3 separate regions of the Homo sapiens genome follow, and all the other regions are linked to region 2. Evidence: promoter capture Hi-C in human tissues and cell types (Jung and others, 2019). All regions are on one chromosome and are shown on one strand. Each heading gives the region's core, a stretch centred on a gene start or on the middle of the fragment in contact. The rest is flanking DNA. Distances are from core to core; before and after follow the strand shown.

Region 1 (4,209 bases), core at 303-2,802, 390 kb before region 2:
TTTTCCCTCTTACCATGTGTATAAGAGAACAGGACGTTGCTGGGCAGAGGGAAGTTATTGTGTGAAGGCCAAGGTCATAACAAGGTTACCGTTCTCATGAGTCTGGGCTAGGTCTGGGCCCTCCCGCCCCGCTCCCTGTATCAGCCCCACTCCCAGGCTCCAGAGCTAGGCCACTTGATGCCTGGTCAGTCCTTTCTGTGCCTTCCCAAATTTACTCTCAATTTCTGGCTCATCTACTATTCTCATTTGCTATTTCTTAAGTTCTGGGCCACGGGAGCCCAAGGTCTCACTCAGCCCTGCACAAACCCCAGCTCTCAAAGCCGGCGTCGCTCTCACTCATTCCCTGTCTCCGCATCGACACGGAGGAGCCACTGGATATAACGCTGAGGTATTAAAAAAAGAAGGAAGTTCAGAAAAACAAACACAGTACGACAGCATTTGTAGGAAGTTTTTTTTTAAAGGCAAAACTGTACAACGCAGTGTTCTAGATGTGGGAAAACCTAACGAAACTCATGAGGATGAAAAACAGCAAACGGGGTGGGGAGACTTGTGGACAGGGGAGGGGGAGGAGGCGGGGGGCGCGGGAGGGGGAGGAGGCGGGAGGAGGCGGGGGTGGGTGGAGGCGGGAGGGTGGGACTTATTAATGAGGCTTGTTTCCGAGTCCGGGTAGCAGATACACGTGACATCAGAAACATCTCATAATCACGAAAGAAATCGAAGCACGCGTGCTCTCTCGGGAGGGCCCTCCTTCTGCGTGCCAGCCCTTGGGATCTGGACTTCTGGCTCCTGGAAACATTCAAAAGGAAACCGGTGGGCCATGGAACCGCTGACAGGATTGGATGGTAAAACAGTGTCTTAGATCCACCCTCGGTGCCTACAAGGGTAACAGGCCACACCCCCATCTCAGAGATGGCAGCGACCTCATCCAAGGGGCAGGGGAAGCCTCAGAGGAGTGATTTTAGCAGCCTCTCACTTCCTCATTTGCCTGTGAAAATAAAGCTGACCCTAAACTTACCGGCTCTGCACTACCCTCCCGCTGGCTGCTTCATTGTCCTGGGCAAATCTTCAGCCCCAGAGACAGTAGTGTTTATTTTAGAACCAAACCCGCTGGCCAGGACACCATCCACGTGAAACATTTCTTCCTAAGCCTGAAGCTTTGTTGTAACCCTGTTGTCTTCCTCCTTATTGGCTCAGCAGTGAGATGGGCTGGCTTGAACCTCCAGGTCTTGAAACCTGCCCAAGATACCAACAACCACCTGTAATAAGGTGCAGGATCCCGCTCAAGCCCTTCAGAGCATCTGTGGATGTGTTACCTCATATGCCCTCACCAAATCCTATAAATAAGAATATCAAGTAGTATCCCCATTTCCAAGATGGGAAATGGCCCCTTCAAAGGTCAGGTCACCGACACTGTGATGCAGGTGGTGTCTCTAGGAGAGGCGCAGGCTTCTAGATCCCAACTGTCGTGGTTTGTTCTAAAGGCTGCAGCAGCCTGGACCATAAAGACAATTTTAAAGCAGTAAACCTAGCAATACAGCCTGGAAGAGAAAACCAAAACAGAGCCAAAAAAAAAAAAAAAAAAAAAAAAAAAACCCAAAACAAGGCAGGCACTGTAATGAAATGCTCACATTTACTCCAGTGCCCACATCTGCATTCCCAGAGTCTCAGAAATCCAGCAGGATTCCAATGCCATGGAAATATGTATCATTGTTTTTGCCAAACAAACTCCCTTACCTTAAGCAAAGGTCAAGTACACTGTAAAACTCCCAGTGCAAACAACCAGCTGGAGGACTTATCCCAGCCTCTGTAAAGTCTTTGCTAATAATTATCCAGACAGCTTTCCTAATTTTTATTTTTAAATGGGGTTGTGGCTCAGCAATAGTGTAAGGATTAATCGCCTTATCAATTAGCATGAGGAAAGGACTGCAAATACAAAGTAGGTGTGTTCTTCCTGGCTTTCTACCTGCTCAATTAGGCTCAGGTCTTAAATGATTTCCAAAATTGGACTACATCTACTGTGTTTACTTCATTCTAAATATCAAAAAGATATCTAAAAGCTTATCATAAAAAAATTTAGAATTTCCCTTTTTGGTTACCAGCCTAAAAGCTCCTTAGTTTAGGGACTGTGTTCTTATTCAACAAGCCATGCCCAGCTCCTGGTTCACAGAACACACTGAATAATGACAAATAATGGAAAACAGAAGGCGGCTGTGTATAATGAATGCATTTCATTCACTTATTCAGCAAGGAGGATGAGGTAGCACCATGCCAGGGGAGATGCCGAGATGAAGCCACACCACCGGCCTCAAGGGGCTCACAGTCTGATGAAGAGACACGTGCCTATAAGACACAGATGGGGTTCTGTGCTACAGGAATGCAAAGAAAGGGACGAGGCCTGGGGAAGACTTCACCAAAGAAGCAGCATTTGAATCTTCCCTTAAGGGAAAAGGAAGTAGGACTGTCCTGCCATGTGGGTGAGGGGAAGGGAAGAGGCCTGGGAGGAGAGTTTTCAGAGAGGCAACCAGCTCTTGCAAAGGCGGCCAGTGCAGAAGAGGCTAGACAGGTTAGGTTCTCAGTATCAAAGTCCCCAGGATGGAGAGAAATTGGAACCTTTAAACACTGTTGGTAGGGATGCAAAAATGGTGCAGCCATTATGGAAAACAGTATGGCAGTTCCTCAAAAAACTAAAACTAGAACTGCCATATGATCCAGTGATTCTACTTCCAGGTACTTATCCAAAAGAATTGAAATTAGGATCTCAAAGCACTTGACGTGAGCGCTCCCACGTTCACTGCAGTGTTATCCACAACAGCCAAGATATGGAAACAACGCAGAGGTCCACTGATAGGTGAAGGGACACACGAAACACAGTGAAAAATACAATAGAATATGATTCCGCTTAAGAACGAATGAAATTCTGACACGTACGACACGTGGATGAACTTGGAGGAATTATGTTAAGTGAAATAAGCCAGTCACAGAAGGACAAATACTACATGATTCCACTTACATGAGGCATGTAAAAATAGGCAAATTCAGAAAATCAAAGAGTGGGCTGATGGTTGCCGGGGGTAGAGGGAGGGAGACATGGGGAGTTGCTCGTCAACTAGCATCAGCTTTCAGGCAGGCGAGATGAATAAGCTCTGGAACTCTGCTGCACACATTGTGTCTATAGTTCACGATACTGTGCTGTACACTGAAAAAACCTGTTAAGAGGGTGGGTCTCATGTTAGATGTTCTTACCACAAATAAAATTAAAAAATAAAATAAAAAAGGCCCCAGGAGAGTTTCTGTTTCATCAACCCAAGGAAAACACCGGAAGGAGTCACAGCTCCAGTGAGGAAGAAGTGAGAAGGGATCTGCCATCGGGGGCTGGAGGGATGGTGGGAACCTTTGCCATTTCAAAGGGAAGCCCTGGCTCCCCTCGGGCACAGCATCCTGGGTGGGGTCTGCACCCCGAGCTGCCACCCATTGCATTTCCATGTCAGCGCCATGTCAGGTGCGCTGTGCCGATGTCTAATCAAGTCTCAGTCATTCAGGATGAAGAGAGAATAGGGAATTCAAAATACATAACTGCAAAAATGAAAGCTCCTTTATTAATTTAGTGCAATACAGAGACGTCCCAGAACAACACGGGCTGCATCCAGAATCACAGATCATTTCAACTAAGAAAAAGATGGGCACCGAGAAGGAGAGCGAGGAACATGCCAGCTGAGACTCATTTCATTCTAGGACAGTACTAGAATGAGCATCTCACTGGGAATTCACCGCCCTCAGGCAGATAACAGATGCTGCTAAGCTATGCTAGCTGGTGTTGCCACGTTTATTCTTCATCACTGAGTGGTTCTCCTTAGGTCACACATATAACTATCCATCTGAGTGCAAGTTTAAAACAAAACAAAAACTGAAGAGGACATACAGATGGCCAAGAAGCACATGGAAAGATGCTCAACGTCACTGTCATCGGGGAAATGTACATCACAGCGACAATGTGGTAGCCCTTCACATCCATCAGGATGGTAGCTGCTGTCAAACAAACAGGAAATAACAAGTGCTGACAAGAATGTGGGGAAACTGGAACCCTGGTGCACCAGTACATTCCTGGTGGGAATGTACAACGGTGCAGCCAACTGGAGAAAACAATATCCCTGTTCTTCATAGAATTAAACAGAGGATTACCATCTGACTCAGCAATGCCACTTTTGGGTA
Region 2 (4,005 bases), core at 1,387-3,886:
TGCACAACAAAACTCAGGTGGTGCTGGGCAGGGACCAACTAACTGCCCCTCAGAAAACCAAGGACTAGAATGAAGGCAGGGCTTATGGTCCCGGTTCTGGTCCCAGGCTCCCCTCTTCACCCCCTCCAGGGTGTGCCAGACTGTCCCCAGCAGAGAGAGCAGCTCCAACAGTTCCACGGTGTGCTGTGAGAAAGTCCTTTACACCCAGCCGCTGGACCTCACACTCACCGCCCACCAGCCCTGCCACCATCATTCTGACCCCTATTTCTGATTTCTGTTCCCCTTGAGGTACTTGGAGGTAGCTATCATATCCCTTCTGAGCCTTTTCTCCACGGTAATCGCTCGCGTCTTCAACCTTTCTTCACTCTTTTGAGCCACTCCTGCGTGTCCACACAGCTTGTGACCGCGTAACAGACCCAGCACAACTAGGGCGACAGCAAAAGAGGCGGAGCCAGGGTGTGTGCAGGGCACGCCCCTCCCTCCTGCTCCAGGTGAGGTATTTCCACCAGCGTGGATGCAACTGAAACCACGCCCTCTTTCCACCGTCTGGCCCAACCCCAGCCAGAAGCAGCTGATGGGACGGTAACAATGACAACTGGCATTTATGGAGAACCTGCTCTTGTTAGACCCTCTACCATGCCTTTCAGTCCTCACAAACGTCAGAGACCACAAGCACAAAGTTACAGGTGGGGAGCCCCACGGGGATCCCGCTCCAACCAGCCTGCCTGGGGTCACGGAGCTCAGACGCCTGACCACAGTGAAGCTCAGGGACTCCAGTGTATTTAAGCCTCGTTCCAGGAAAGGTCATTGAATAAACCGCTGTTCCTTCACGATGCTTTCCTGATTTGGGCATTGATTTGTTAAATTTAAAATATCATAACAAACAGCAAATCCAAGGAAAACTGCTTCCATGCTTGAAATAACACCCAACTGTCTGGAGAACAGCTATAAATGTGAGGCTCTGGGGAGCAGAGGGAGGCCTGAAAGGCGGGCCTTCTCGCTCAGGGCCCCAACTCGCTGGCTGTGGGAGCCCTTCCAAAAGATGTGTCATGAGAACTAAGCTAATTATCCACGTAATTCTCACACTGGGGTTGGGGCCATCGCCAGGGGAAAGCACAGGTTATCTCAAGAACGCAGCCAGATAGGAGGCTGGGGAGACTTGGACGGGCCACCTTCTGCTTCAGTAACTTGGCCCCAAGCTTTCAGGAGGTCTCTGCTTAGAGGAGGACTGCAGAAAAGAAGGCTGCTGGGCCACTGTCCCAATGTTCCGAGCTACAGGTGGTCACCCATGGAGGGGGGTGGGACCTGCTCGGAAGTCCTCCAGTCTTCCCGCCCCTTCTCCCCTCCCGGCCCTCCCAGGCGGCCCCTCTCCTCGGCCTGCCCCCTCCACCCCGCAATTCTTCCCGTCTCAATTCCAGTCCCTCTCTCTTGCGTCCTCCCGGCTTCCACCCCCTCAGCCTGGCCTCCAAAAGAAAGATCGGGCAGAGCGGTAGGAAAAGGGAAGCCACCGCGGTTTCTGAAAACAAGAATTCCCGCGAGCCAGGACGGTCACGAGGCCGGGGAGGAGGCGGCGCAGCTGATCAAACGCGAATGGGGACCAGCCCTGGCGGGGGTGCGGGGGGGCCCTGGCTGTCCGCGGCAGCCGCGGGCGGGGCGGCCGCTCCGAGGAGGGACGGAAGGGCTGCGTGGCACCTCGCGCTCGAAGACCAGGGGCGCGCCCTCCGCGGGGAGAACTCGGGGCGGCGGCCAGACCCGACGCGACCCCCGGCTCGGACCCTGCAGTTAACTGCTCCCAGACGCTTTCCCAGTGCGCCCGCCCGCCGGCCCTCGGGAGGTACCGGGCAGGGGGCTAGGGCCGGGCCGACCCTGTGAGCCGCTCAGCCCCGGGCGCCCCCGCCCTCCTCGGAAGTGACTCGTCCTCAGGGAGAGTCCGGCGCCCGCCCTGCCGGCCTCGGCCCCTTTCCCGCCCCATTTGGCTCCTCCGCCGGGGGCGCCCCCAGGCTGGGCAGGCTGGCTCCCCGTCCCCCTAACCCCGCCGCCCGGGCACCCCTCGTCTGCGGGCGCGGGGTCCAAGTGTCCCCTGTCCAGGGCGGGCAGAAAGGAGAAGTCGCAATCTCGGTTGAAGTCTCTTCCCCGCCTCCTTCGTGCACTTCAAGGCTGCCTCGGCCCCGCGCCCCTCCCGCGTCCCCGGCCCCGCACCTTGCCGCAGCGGCCCCTGCGCCAGTTCGGACCGGTCCTCGGGAAAGGCGTCGCGCAGGCGCTGCCACAGGCGGCCCAGGTCCGCCAGGCTGCGGTGCAGGTAGAGCACGCTGCGGTCCGACCACTCCGTGCGGATCTCGAAGAACTCCTCTTCGTCGCCGCGCCGGCTGACGATGAGCCTGCGGATGCCGTTCACCCAGCAGCCGCGCACGAACATGTTCACGAGCGACGTGCCCTCAAACACCGCCGAGGCCATGTCGCACGCATGCCCCCGCCAAGGGCTCCCCAGCCCCGCCGCCCGCCCGCCCGCAGGAGGCGCGCCCCGGCCGGGGTCGTCCCGGGTCTGTCCGTGGCCGGGGTCGTCCGGGGTCGGCCCGTCACTCCAAGGAGGCTGCGTATGGCCCGCGTTCGGGGCAGCGGGGCGGCGCGGCGGCGAGTGGCTCGGGCCGGCCGGGCGCGGCTTTATAAGGCGCTTCCCATCGCGGGCGGCGCGGTAGTCGACGTCGAGGTTAGGCCGCGTCCGCCTCCCGCCCGCCTCCCGCGGAACGGGCGCCGCGGGCCGCTCTGGAAAGGAAGAGGTCCGGCTGGCCGCGCCCCCGCCGCCTCCGCAGAGACCGCGCTGCCGCGGCCACGAGAACCCCCGGAGCCGGGAGCCGGGCCGAGTCCCAAGCGCTCGCCCCCGCCTCGCGCCCCCCGCGCCTCCTCCCTCGCGGCCCCGGAGCCGCAGGTCGGTGACTGGACCAGCCGGGAAGGGAGGCGGGGCGGGCCCTGCTTGCCAGGCGCTCGGCGCAGACTTTTTTCTCTTTCCGTTTCGCGATCCTCGGGACCTCCCAGGGCTAGGAGCTGCGCGCCCCACCCGGCCCGCGAGGGGATGGCAACTACCCGGGGTCCGGAGGCGGGGCTGCGAGTGTCGGGGCGGGGGGCGCGGGCCGGGTCGAGCACCGCCCCGACGAGGGCCCAGGCCAGTCCGGCCCGCCCCGGGTTCCCTCCGTGCCTCAGGTCCCCTCCGTGCCCCGCGTCCTCCCGCGCATTCCGGTCATGCCTCAGCCGCGCCAAGGCCTGGGACACGGCCGGACAGACCGCGGGGCAGCCCTCGGAGAAGTGGGAAGAGGGGAGAAAACAGTGGCGAAAAGAAGGTCTCCTGGGAAGGAGCGCCCTGGGAAGCTGGACGCGGTGGGTGCTCTTGAGGGGCCTCAGGAGTGGACTTGGGGAAACCGCCCGCCCTGAAAACTGACTCAGCGGCGCGTTACTGAGGCCGTTCCTAGTTGGAAGAGAATTAATAGCACTTGTTTGAGAATTACAAGTTAGTTCCAGAAATGAATCGAGTGACCTCACAGCCCGTAGGCAGGGGTGGGAGAGCCAGGGTGAGCCCCTCACCTCACCCCGCCCCCGCCCCGGCAGCGCTCTGGAAAGCCTCAAAGCCCAGCGCTGCGCGGAAATGTTAGAGGCCCAAGGCAGGTGGCCTGTCTGGACTCAGACCCGACCCAGATGTCCCCCCAGGTCCCTACCACTCAGTCCCACCTGCCTCGACTCAGTCCCGACCCAGATGACCACCCCCCCCCCGCCCCCACCACGACCAACTTTTATTCCGACTGCGCCAGTGACTTGCAGATAGCATAGCTTCAAATTTCCTCACCTGGTCTGGGGCGGTGAACAGGTCAAGATGGAGAGTGTCAAGAGAGACTTTTGCTTTGTCTATGATGTTTTTATATACACTTGCTAATTAAATGAACGCATATGTTTCCTGTGTAATTTTGTATAGGGGAATAGGGGCCGTGGGAACTGGAAGTAAACAGCCAGTGTGCC
Region 3 (3,877 bases), core at 764-3,263, 420 kb after region 2:
TTTCTGAGTCTCAGTTTCCTCATTTATGAAAAGGCGGATTGCAAACCTTGAAAGGCCAATCCTTCAAGATGAATCCTGACTGGGTGACTGGGCCTAAATTCAGTAAGAGCCAAGTGACCATTTGCTGACTAGAGGTCACATACGTGTTCTGAGTTCCATGAAAACCTGCATGTCTGCATAACTTTGAGACTTTCATAGTTGCCTGTTCCTATTTTTGTTGCCTGAACCAACCAATAGGCTGTGACCTACATTAACCAACCAGAGCTCAGTAAACGTCAAACAATCATAACTAAGCACATTTAAATGTTTCATGTGTATATGTGGACTTTAGTGAGAACCTGGGTTAGAACTTCCTCTATAAAAGTCAAATTTCCCATTGTTCTCTGGACTGCACCTTCACTTTACATGAAAGCTGTGTCTCTTTGGTATGAAAAATTTACTGGAATAAAGTCTCTTTCCTCTACATTCCTTTTCAGAGAAGTTTTGTTCACATTCTTTGGAATCAGAAGTGGAATTCAAGCAACACTGATTCTTCTCCTGATGCTGTCCTGAACCAACACATTGGGATCTTCAAGGGTCCTTTGAGTTCAGTTGTCTTCTCAGAGATGCCAGGAAGCCTCAGGTAAGCCCTCTTGAATTCAGACCTCCCATGCCTTTTTTTTTTTTTTTTTTTTGAGATGGAGTTTCACTCTTGTTGCCCAGGCTGGAGTGCAGTGGCATGATCTCGGCTCACTGCAACCTCTCCCTCCTAGGTTCCAGTGATTCTTGTGCCTCAGCCTCCAAAGTAGCTGGGATTACAGGCGTGTGCCACCATGCCCAGCTAACTTTTGTATTTTTAGTAGAGACGGGGTTTTGCCATGTTGGTCAGGCTGGTCTCAAACTCCTGACCTCAGGTGATCCACCTGCCTTGGCCTCCCAAAGTGCTGGGATTACAGGTGTGAACCACCGCGCACTTCTCCCATGCTTTTGATCTAAGCCTCAGAGCCTTTATTTAACCTCCTCAGCCAGTCCTCTTCATCTGGACCCTGAAAGAGACCTCCCCAGGAAGGGGGGCCTCTCCATCTGGTTTGCAGAGGTGGCCTCTTCATAAGGTTGCAGACCCAGCTGTTCCATCAGGTTTTGTGAGGACACTCTAAGGTGCGCTAGAGGGATGCCTTCATCAGCTTAGTGCAATGGGTAACCCGTGATTTCTGTGTTTCCCTGATGATCAGCTGCCCTCTGGCACTCCAACTGGCTTTATGAGCAAAAATTATGTTCCAGAGAGTTGTAATTGGCTAGGTCTCTGGACAAAAATTACCTGGGATGATCTAAAAACTTTGTTGGCCAAGATGGGGTTCTTTTGAAATTCTAAAACTTGCCTATCTGTGCTCACAATTAGAACAAAGAAAACACTGAACTTCCCAGAGATAATGAAAAGCCTTTTCAAGTTGGTACTTTTAGAGTTTCGAATAAAATCAAGAGCTACTATGCTTCCCTTAAAGAAAGCAATTCCAAATTAGGCAAACATCTTAATGAATTAAAAAGAGATTAGCACTTGGGAGACTGAAACTAAAGCTGCAGAAAAACCTAAGACCCTTCTTCTGCTAGCTCACCTCTCCTGTCACCTTGCCTGTCTGCTGCATCTTTTACAAGGCCTCTACTTTACCTTTCACTCCCTCCTTCCTCTTTCACGCTTTCTGAATTCCTCTTTTTCTCTTCTGACATTTCCACTTCCTCCAGACTCAGCCCCTTTTAAGGCCCAAATAATGGGGAGTAGAAATTGGCAAATTCCACGCTCCTTAGTCCATGTCAGAACTTTTGGCCCTAGTAAAACATTTCCCTAGTCCCTTGAAGACTAACTTCCTTGAATTTGAGTAACATTGTAGCCTAATCATTAGGGCTTATCAATCTTGATCAGCTGTTAGCTGCTGAATGGGAAAGACTCTGAGGACTTTAAGCAGACCGGTGCCCAAGGATTTGATAAGGCACAGAAACAGGATACCAAATTACTAAAAGCCATTCCCCTATTTTTTCCCCATCAGATAAACTGAAAAGCCATACACCGTTTACACAAAAAAAGGATGAGACCATTCTTGATTATTTTGATAAATTTGAACAGACTTTCCAACAAAATTTGGAGATCAAATATTTAAATGATGAAACATTCCATTTATTTAATTCCTTTTTTTTTTTTTTTTTTTTTTTGGGGCTGGTCTTTCTGAAGCTCTCAGTACCCTGGTAAAACAGCTTGACCTTAACTGGGCTGTAAAGTAACCTTATGAAATAGCCTCTTTGGCCAATTCATTATCCAAAACTTTAGAAAAGAATAAAGAATCTAGGGCTACTTGAGCATTAGACTGTCAAGAGAAGGCTGCTAAGTTAATGGTCCTTCAGTTACAACAATTAGCAAGGGACACCTCAAACATGCCCATTCTTCAAAACCAAAATTTAAAAAAAAAAGTGTGTTTTCAGAAGATGTTCCAGACATTTTAAAAAGGATTGCCCCAAATACAAATGAAGGCTGCAATTAAATCTTGATAAAGTCCCTGGCCCTCTACCCTCAAGCAGGACAAGGGATGATCCAGGGACATTCTGGGAATAGAGCTCTAGTTGACATTGAGCCACTGTCCTTAACCCTGATACTCTGGAGTGTCCCTGCCAGAGTTCTGAACTCATCTGGATGGTTGCAGGAGCCGACCAACCTGTGATGGTTCCTAAATCTCTATCCCTCCAACTGGGGGGTCCTGACTGACAATCATTGTTTTTCGTGTGTTCCATCGGTTCCCATACAATGCACCTCCTGGAAAGGAACTCCTTAGAGGCCTATCAAGCCCCTATTTCCTTCTCTTGAAGTGGGGGGCTAATGCTTGAGTTGGCAGCCCTGAGCTCAGCAGTACAGTTAGAAAATGGAGACTAAGTTAGAAATCACATAACTAAATTGGTCTCCAGGATATGATTTTTTTTTGGCCTTCAGCTGATTATTTTGAAAAGATTTCTAAACTTTGTCTAGGCTCATCTTTATTTTTCCTCATAAAATCCTGTGATAAATTCCTGTAATTTTAGGTTATCTTGGCACCCATTGTAATCCTCCTGTAACACACTCAAACTCCTTCTTGACAAAGCTTAGGTTCTCTCAGTTATTTGACATGTAAATTGCTACCCTGTTTTCTCTAAAACTCAGTAAGGGCTTTGGCCATGTGAGACATAAATTTTAACCTGTTCCATTTACAGAGACATAGTTAGAATCCAACCGTCCATTTAAACAAGTAAGTTATACCTGACACATGGCTAAAATTTTAAAATTAAAGCCATACAATCTTTATTTGTGTCTGTATATATTTTTATGTATACAGGTGTATGCATGTCTGTTCGTATGTTGTCTACATAATACCAAGTTGACTTCGTTTGTTCGTTCGTGTGTTTTTGTTGAGCTACCGGGCCTGGCCCCACATTGACTTTTAAATAAATGTGAGTATTCATAAATTAAGTAAATAAGCCCAAATGCTTTTCAAGTTCATGTGACTTTAGTCAACTTTTGGCAACTAACACTAGTTTAATACTGTTTGTTTAATAAAAGTAACAAGATCTTCTGAGTTATCAGCAAAATATGCATGTATTTAATGTTAAGATTCTTGCTTTCATGATATGTGCCTAACAGACAAGTAATGTAGAAATGGTTAATAGAAAATTTAACTTGAGATGATGGCTAGAATTGTCTAACGTCTCATGGAATTTTCCAAATTGTTAAGAATGAATACATTAAGGCCAGGAGCTGTGGCTCACGCCTGTAATCCCAGCACTTTGGGAGGCCGAGGAGGGCAGATCATGAGGTCAGGAGTTCTAGACCAGCCTGACCAACGTGGTGAAACCCTGTCTCTACCAAAAATACAAAAATTAG

What was found. The method cuts DNA at HindIII sites, captures the fragments that hold promoters and counts their contacts. A contact is called where the count stands out against the background at its distance.
Region 1: a fragment that was not itself captured here is called in contact with the fragment with the promoter of PXDC1 in region 2 in 1 of the 25 tissues and cell types used here (heart right ventricle).
Region 3: a contact is called between a fragment that was not itself captured here and the fragment with the promoter of PXDC1 in region 2, in 1 of the 25 tissues and cell types used here (spleen).

Annotation. Positions count from the first base shown.
Region 1 is chr6:3,355,493-3,359,701 of GRCh38, forward strand. The region is part of intron 3 of SLC22A23 (solute carrier family 22 member 23); the gene reads right to left. Among named protein-coding and RNA genes, the nearest start is that of PSMG4, 99 kb to the left of the region's middle. RefSeq lists an enhancer at 651-1,541. The HindIII fragment of the contact is 4,734 bases long and covers 1-3,919 here.
Region 2 is chr6:3,749,077-3,753,081 of GRCh38, forward strand. It overlaps PXDC1 (PX domain containing 1), which reads right to left and starts at 2,637. Exons shown (of 5, transcript NM_183373.4): 1 at 2,200-2,637. The coding sequence starts at 2,455. RefSeq lists silencers at 1,861-1,940, 2,691-2,930, 2,981-3,150. The HindIII fragment of the contact is 13,410 bases long and covers 1-4,005 here.
Region 3 is chr6:4,170,679-4,174,555 of GRCh38, forward strand. It overlaps LOC124901246 (a long non-coding RNA gene), which reads left to right. Exons shown (of 5, transcript XR_007059416.1): 3 at 477-622; 4 at 3,333-3,447. Among named protein-coding and RNA genes, the nearest start is that of ECI2-DT, 37 kb to the left of the region's middle. The HindIII fragment of the contact is 6,100 bases long and covers 1-3,877 here.